2 separate regions of the Homo sapiens genome follow, and region 2 is linked to region 1. Evidence: promoter capture Hi-C in human tissues and cell types (Jung and others, 2019). All regions are on one chromosome and are shown on one strand. Each heading gives the region's core, a stretch centred on a gene start or on the middle of the fragment in contact. The rest is flanking DNA. Distances are from core to core; before and after follow the strand shown.

Region 1 (4,129 bases), core at 1,520-4,019:
CAGTGACTTATGAGGTCCCACCGATGGCCGGGCCTAGATCCAGGACTCAGGACGTTTAGGGCAGCTCAAACTTTTGAGGTTGTTTTCCTCCTGGGATCAGGTAGCAGAGAGGAACTGGAAATGTAAGTGGGAATCCACATAGTGGTGATTAAGGAAGAAAGCTGCCATAGAACCCAAATTCTCTCTTGTTAGCACAAGGGAGGTTTACCATGAGTTTCTGGAAGTTTCTAGAGCCATGGGCAGTGCTGAAGAGGATCTGGATCATCAATGAGTAGGTGCAGCTAAATATTAAAGATTATGGTTTCCTACTGAATGGGAGCTTTTATTTCTTTAAATCATGTTCTAAATGATTTCTTGCCCTTGCTGTTTAAATATAGCCATCCATTGGTATCCATGGGGGACTGATTCCAGGAACCTCCATGGATACCCAAATCCACAGAGGCCCCAATCCCTGAAGGAAGGTGGTGTAGTATTTGCACATAACCTATGCACATCCTTCTGTGTACTTCAAGCCATCTCTAGATTACTTATAATACCTAATACAGTGTAAATGCCATGTAAACAGTTGTTATACTGTGTCATTTAGAGAATGATGACAAGGAAAAACATCTGTACATGTTCAGTATATATGCAATCATCTACTTTAAAAAGCATTTTTGAACCACAGTTGGTTAAATCCATGGATGCAGAACCCATGGATACGAGGTCGACTGTAATAGAAACTTTCAATACCAAGGAATGCATCTGCCTAGCGATTTTGCGAAAAAGAGTGTATTTGTATTTGAAAGAAACCGTGGAGTGGAAACACCTAAAACGTGCTTGTTCAGTTAACCTCAGTTTGCTGAGCTGCTTGGAGCATGGGGTTGTAATCAAAGATTGTCTTCTTCGCAGCAGACAATGTTCTGGGAGAAATAGTCCTCCTTAGTGCTGAAGTTGCAGACTCTAACCAAGGGGGTGGCAGCAAGTATCCCCGGTCTCTGTAGGGGCTTGAGTCAACGCCTGCACTGTGCAGAGAGGATGAGGGCAGAGAATTGGATGCCGCTGGAGGGGCGTGTTGTCCTTCTACATGTCATGCAGGCAGCGCGGTTCTATACTCGGAGCCTCTGCTCAGCGTGTCTTCACCTAAGAACCCCATAATTCAGGTTCCATCCTTGTTCCCTACTCCAGTGCTCTGCAAGTGAGCCCTTTGGTTTAGAGATGGGTTGGGCTTCTTTATGGGAGAGGAAGGGAGCCCTGGAGCTGCAGAGGGGAGCAGGCATTCTCTCTGGGGTGCTGTCTCCTTTCTTCCCTAAATTGGAGGGAGATAATCCATGGAAAGGAGTTAATGATTTCTTTGCTCTTCAAACTTGGTTTGGAAGGATCTCTCAGTCAAAAAGAACCTTTCGGATGTCTCTTGATATTTCACATTAATGGACTTTTCATAAGGACCACATGATGGGAGAGCAGTGAGAAGTTTGGGGATGGCCAAAGCTGGGTTGTCATTTGAGCTCTGTTACTAACCCAGACTGGACAATGACGATGTCACTTACTCTCTCGGAACTTCTTTTCTTTTCTTCTTTTCTTTTCTTTTTTTCTTTTTTCTCTTCTCTTCTCTTCTCTTCTCTTCTCTTCTCTTCTTTTCTTTTCATTTCTTTTCTTTCTTTCCTTTTTCTCTTTTTTGGAGTCTCACTCTGTTGCCCAGGCTAGAGTGCAGTGGCGCCATCTCGGCTCACTGCAACCTCTGCCTCCTGGGTTCAAGCAATTGTCCTGCCTCAGCCTCCCAAATAGCTGGGACTACAAGCGCCTGCCACCATGCCTGGCTAATTTTTATATTTTTAGTAGAGATTTAGTAGGGGTTTCACCATGTTGGCCAGGCTGGTCTCCAACTCCTGACCTTGTGATCTGCCTGCCTTAGCCTCCCGAAGTGCTGAGATTACAGGCATAAGCCACCGTGCCCAGCCTGTTTCTTTCATCTGTAAAATGGGACCACAATTTCACCTAATAAAAGAAGACATCTTTCTATTTAAAAGGGCTTAGGGTGTTGATGTTTGTGATAAAGGAGAGAATGTATATTGAAGTGTTTTGAAATGTGCAAAGCTTTCTAGAAACAGAAGTTCTTACTCAAGTATTTTCCCGAAGCTTTGGCAAGATAACCATTTTTATTACCCCGTCTGTGCCTAGAATGGGCCTATAAGCGCCACAATCAGAATCATTAGATATAGAAATTAAGAGAAATGTAGCCTCCTTTTTTTTGCCGGTGAACAGAGCTTTGGTTAACAGAAAACCAAGGCGATTTTAATTGCTGGTTTTTCTATTTGAAGGGGGAAGTTATTAGTAGAAGTCTCAATTCAGAAACTTCAAGAAGAAATGGGAGGGTGTGGTGAGGGTAAGCGGGGGACTGCATTTCCTGTTTTCCTTTCAGATGGTGTTGGAAAACATTGCAGGAAAACCATGGATACCCACGAAGAAATTCCAAAATTTATTCTTTTTGACGCCAAGGGCCCAGCCCAAAAGGTGACGAGTAGGAGTGGTCAATTTTTTTTTTTAAGAGTTGGGGCTTGCAGGAGTCCAGCTAAACGCTTGTAGGGTGAAGACAGAATTCAGAGGGTGACATCAGCCTGAGCGGGGGCCAGAAGAAACAGAGTGGAGGAGTCTGGTTTCATTTACAGTTTTGGGTCAGTTCTGCAGTGAGGAGGGGGAGAGGAGGGGTCCGGGAGGGAGGAGGAGGAGGAGGAGGAGCTGGAGGAAGCCCTGACTGGTATCCCTGGCCCCAGTCCAGTTTGGAGCTCAGTCTTCCACCAAAGGCCGTTCAGTTCTCCTGGGCTCCAGCCTCCTGCAAGGACTGCAAGAGTTTTCCTCCGCAGCTCTGAGTCTCCACTTTTTTGGTGGAGAAAGGCTGCAAAAAGAAAAAGAGACGCAGTGAGTGGGAAAAGTATGCATCCTATTCAAACCTAATTGAATCGAGGAGCCCAGGGACACACGCCTTCAGGTTTGCTCAGGGGTAAGTGTGATTTCTCTTCTGTTTTTCCAGGTTTGGGGCTAGAAGGAAATGCTCTTAACCTGAAGTGATCCTTTCTAGGTAGCGTTAGTGGCTCTTACGTTCATGCTGATCGCCAGTTTTCTGTACATGTTTTAGGTCTCTGGAAGATTCCGCTGATTTTTCTTTCTCACTTTATGGCAATGGGATTTCCTTAAATTGGTTAAGGTCATGATTGCCTAAGAGTGTGAGCACTTTTCCACCGCGTGTCTGTGGCTGCTACACGCGCCCTGTGCATTCCGGGCGGCAGTGTGTTTCGGCCCATGATTTATTTAAGTTACTGCCGCCTTCTAAAACCCATTCGGGATCCGCTTTGTTTGCAGAAGCGTCTTTGCTGAGGACTAGCATAGCTCCCTGCCGGGCGGCTCCGCTGGGAGATGTTCTCTGAGCTCTCTGGGTGGTGACACTAGGTCAGGGTGCAACAACCTGCATGGGTTTTCTGCCCAGGGCCGCCCATGGGAAGGTCCTGGTGGAGCACATTTGCTGCTTTCACAAGATTGGAGTAACTCTGGTGCTCAGGATCAGGGCCAAGTAAAGGGTCGCTCAGTCATTGCCGTCAAGCTTTCGTCTTTCCAGGAACCTGAAGTCTCTATTGGAGACTTTGTCCCTTGGGGTTGCTTAAAGGAGTTGCAGGGGTCAGAGGAGAAGAAGGAATTGGGCATTTGGGCAGCATGCTGAGTGTCTAAGGCAGGGCCCCTGGGGCTGCAGGGCCAGCCCATGCTGCACAGAGGTGAGGCCAGTGCCGAGCTGGGAGGCCCCGAGGGCTGTTCTCTGGCCCGGAGGATGCAGGGTGGGGCTCGGGCCCTCTCTTGCTGAGGATGGACACGTTCGCTGACAGTGGCCAGCCTGTTTGGGGAACCTGTTTCAAGGGGCCTACTATGTTGGATAATGAACGGGTATTGAAGTATGGGTGGGGTCACTGGGAGGGACTAGGGAGTGGTTAAAGAAAAATCTGCTTCCACAGGAAGCCCCAGGAGCCAGTTTCGAGGCCGGTGCAGACCCCAGGAGCAAACCCCTCTGAGCACAGGGGAGTCTGCTGTGCTGGATGGGGAGGCAGGGCTGTGGCCCCGGCTGACTGGCTTCTCTCCCCACATACAGCTCACCCCGGCGAGG
Region 2 (4,022 bases), core at 1,130-3,629, 280 kb before region 1:
CTCACGCCTGTAATCCCAGCACTTTGGGAGGCCGAGGCAGGCGGATCATCTGAGGTCAGGAGTTCAAGACCAGTCTGACCAACATAGTGAAATCCCATCTCTACTAAAAATACAAAATTAGCCGGGCATGGTGGCGCATGCCTATAATCCCAGCTACTCAGGAGGCTGAGGCAGGAGAATCACTTGAACCCGGGAGGCGGAGGTTGTAGTGAGCCGAGATCTCACCATTGCACTCCAGCCTGGGCGACAGAGCGAAATTCCATCTCAAAAAAAAAGAAAAAAAAAAAAAAGAAAAGAAAAACCACTATTTTTAATTTTTGGATTTACAAACTGATTGCAACTTACATATAAACTCAAAATATGTTTTACACAGTTCAAATATACATGAACTATTCCAGGAATGCAATCGACATGGAAATTGAAGGAAGATGATGATACTTGGCTTTGTTCAGAACTTTCCTGAGAGTTAGTCAACTTTGTAGAATGTCACGTCATAGACAGCAACATGAGGGGTGGTGTGTGGGTCTCAGTGCAACACACCTGTGTCAGCCTCCCTGTGACGCCAGGCACAGGTGTGTGCAGGTCTCATCACTGCATTCAACTGCTGGTGTACTTGGTCTTGAGTATTTCTATATCAAAATTCTTATTATGTTACTATAAACTACCTGTATTTTATTTTTTAAGGAAATGTTATATTGACTCGAAATTATGTGCGCTGGTTGACTTTCTCACCTATGCATTTCATTTCAGGCTAGTAAGGAAGTTAAGGAACTTGTAAAAAGACAGGGTTGAGAACCACAGCTTCAGAACTCCAGTGTGGATCTCTCGTCTCTCCATCACACTGTATGAACCAGCCCCGGCACAATTCAGAGCACAGGTCTGGGTGCCTGGTGCTCAGGCCATCATGAAGATTTGGATGGCATAAAGTTAGAGATCAAAGCCTAACTGATTACTTAAAACACTATGTTTCCATCAAAATTAACTCAGACAAATTATGGAGTAGACTGAAATTACCATGAAAGTTTACGGTAAGACGGCCACCTTCAAAGAAGGCTTTAGCTTACAAGGCTGCTCCTGGCCGGGCCCACAGGCCCCAGGAGCCAGCACACTGTCCTCTGCACTCGGGGGACCTGGCAGACAAGTCCAAGAAATGCTGGGTGCCGACTGCTTCTCTCAGCTATGGCTGCACTGTTCTCAGTAAAGGTCTGAGTTTATGCAGGTGCAGACTGTCAAGAAAGGAGTCTGAAGACCCAGCCACAGCCTCCAGCTTGGGCTCTGTCACCTACAGTTATGTGAGCCTGGATAAGTTACTCGGTTTTTGAACCCCAGCCCTCATTAAAGAAGTAGGAGGGGACGTAATCTTTAAGAGCTTCCTTCCCCTCTGAAATTCTTTGGGTTCATGCCAGAGGTGAATTATTTGTACACTGAGATTGTCCACAGACTGTGTCTGTTTTGCTACTGGAAATCTCCAGGCTTTGCTTTTCAGAATAATAAGCTTCTTTAAAGTCCTTCGCATCCTAAAATAGCAAACGTATTAATCGGGAACAAAATGATTGATGTTACTTTATTGATGACTCACACATTGACCTATTCAAACCTCACAACACAATCTTGGGCTTAGCAGCTACTCCCACTGGCGCTAAGAAATAAATACGCTATACAGTATCTTCCATGCAAGTGAACTTCTACTCTTGCTGTTAATACATTTCTTGCTTTTCCTGAGATGAATGAATCTTCATATTTCCTTCAATTGCCTCAACATGATGGAAATACAAGAACCATGACTACCACTAACAGAGACGTGCGGGACTGAGAGGCGAGGGCGGCTGGGCCTCCCCTGTGCCGTTTCCTCTCCAGGTGACAGGTTTCCCTCCAGGCAGCACGTCTGGGCTCCACTCCCTTCACCTTTGCCTGCTCTGCTCAAGACTGTCCTACAAACCCCAGACCTCTAGGGTTTCACAAAAACATTTAAATTGTTTCCTCTGAGAAGAAGGCTGAAAGCTCCACCAGCACCAGGGCAGCACACAGCAACTGACAATCTTTCCTATATTCAGTGGATATTCCCTGGAACCAGCTATAAAAGAAACAGCAGCTGTCATGTTTATCCTCCATGAACTTATCTACTTGGATGAGGTAGGGGAGGAGTTACATCATACCCAGAAAAATAAAAAGGCTTAAATCACAGCAGCTCTCAGGTGTATGCCGACATAAGCAGTAGTTAACATTTTAGCATGGTACAAAAATAGCAAAACAAGTTTCACAGCTATTTCATTTCTACCATTATTTTCCTTATGTAGAAAAGTAAAGCTCATTGGGCCGGGTGTGGTGGCTCATGCCTGTAATCCCAGCACTTTGGGAGGCCGAGATGGGAGGATCACTTGAGGTCAGGAGTTTGAGACCACCCCGGCCAATGTGGTGAAACCCCATCTCTACTAAAAATACAAAAATTAGCCGGGTGAGGTGGCAGGCACCTGTAGTCCCAGCTGCTTCAGAGGTCTGAGGCAGGAGAATCGGTTGCACCTGGGAAACGGAGGTTGCAGTGAGCTGAGATTGTGCCATTGCATTCCAGCCTGGGCAATCAAGCACGACTGTCTCAATAAAAAAAAAGAAGGAAAGTAAGTTCGTTCTTTGAATGTTCTCTTCTGTCTGGAAATTACCAGGCAGAGAACAGAAAAGTTTGACAGAGTGAAGACTTCCCAGTATGCATTCAAGACAAGGACTTCTGTCCTAAGAGGCAGCTTTGGTAAAAAGAAATCCTTCAGCCCCAATACTGGGGTATGAGACAGCAGGGCTGCCAAGAAAAGCTGACAACAGCGACAAAAGCAGCAGCAGCAGCCGTGGCAGCCACAGCTATATCTTGCACATTTACTACCTGCCAGCCCCTGCCTGCAGCATTGCATACAGTGGTGACAGTTATCAGTACCAGTTCCGAGTCAGCAGGCCTGGGTCTGAACTGGCTCCACTGCTGACTAGCTGTGAGGGCTTGGAAAGTCCCTGACCTTTCTGAGCCTCAGTTTCCTCTTTATCTGAAAAACTGAGAGAAAACGATCTGCTCCCCATGAGGTTACAGCAAGGGTTAGAGAAGACCTTCACATAAAACACCAGGTGGGCGCAGCAGGGGTTTGGTAAATATTAGCTACTTTCACTACTTAGTGTCTTCTTTGACAGCTACTGACCTAAGAGTATAAATCCGGTTCAGAGAAGTTTAGAAGCACGATGAGAAGACAAGCATGCTAAGGCACCCACCTAGCAGAGAAGCAGGAAAAACTGGGGAAACTTCAGAGGAGGGGGACAGAGGTTCTCAACCCACAGGGAAAGCCCACTCCTTTCCCTAGGAAAATCACACAGCCACGTGCCACATACAGTAAAAAAGACAGAAGGATCACAGGTGGCGTTGCTTTGATCATCTTCATTACACAAATAAATGAAACATTTTGGTTAAAATTAAGAGTAAATCTTCATTATAGTGATTTAAGATAAATTACTTCTCTACTACAAAGTAGTTATACTTTAGATTCAAGGGAAAACTACTTACCTAGTTTTAAAGTTGTAAAGTTACAATCCCAAGGAGAAACCACTGGAAACACTGGCCCTTTCCAAAATGAATGAATGAGTCTCGGAATACATATAATTTCTGTTGCCAGGTGTGTGTGTGTTTTGGTTTATTGTTTTGGAATCTGGCCTGGGGCAGGGGGATTATACTACTGGTCTATAATCAAATACATGGCAATTTTGAATGATTAAATCTTGCATGTAGTCAAAATATTTAATTTGGGAGAAAGAAACGAATTTACTTAATTTTATCTAGGTAGTCTGAATAATAAAAGTTCTAGTAAGTCCATTCCATGAAAACAAGCTTCTTTATTTAAAAAAAAAAAACAAAAAACAAATTTGGGCGGCCTCCAGTAATAACAGTGAGGTAATAAAAATCCTCTTCTCCTGTCCCATGTCTAACACGTAGTGAGATGTAATGGACTTACTGATTGGTGAAGAGGTTGGTAATCTAAACATTATGGCCTCTG

Evidence for each region. The method cuts DNA at HindIII sites, captures the fragments that hold promoters and counts their contacts. A contact is called where the count stands out against the background at its distance.
Region 2: a fragment that was not itself captured here is called in contact with the fragment with the promoter of COL6A3 in region 1 in 1 of the 25 tissues and cell types used here (IMR-90 fibroblasts).

What each region holds. Positions count from the first base shown.
Region 1 is chr2:237,412,804-237,416,932 of GRCh38, reverse strand. COL6A3 (collagen type VI alpha 3 chain) reads left to right here and starts at 2,769. Exons shown (of 44, transcript NM_004369.4): 1 at 2,769-2,980. The HindIII fragment of the contact is 4,662 bases long and covers 1-4,129 here.
Region 2 is chr2:237,695,615-237,699,636 of GRCh38, reverse strand. The region is part of intron 1 of LRRFIP1 (LRR binding FLII interacting protein 1); the gene reads right to left. Among named protein-coding and RNA genes, the nearest start is that of LRRFIP1, 70 kb to the right of the region's middle. RefSeq lists a silencer at 1,231-1,280 and an enhancer at 2,344-2,553. The HindIII fragment of the contact is 4,703 bases long and covers 28-4,022 here.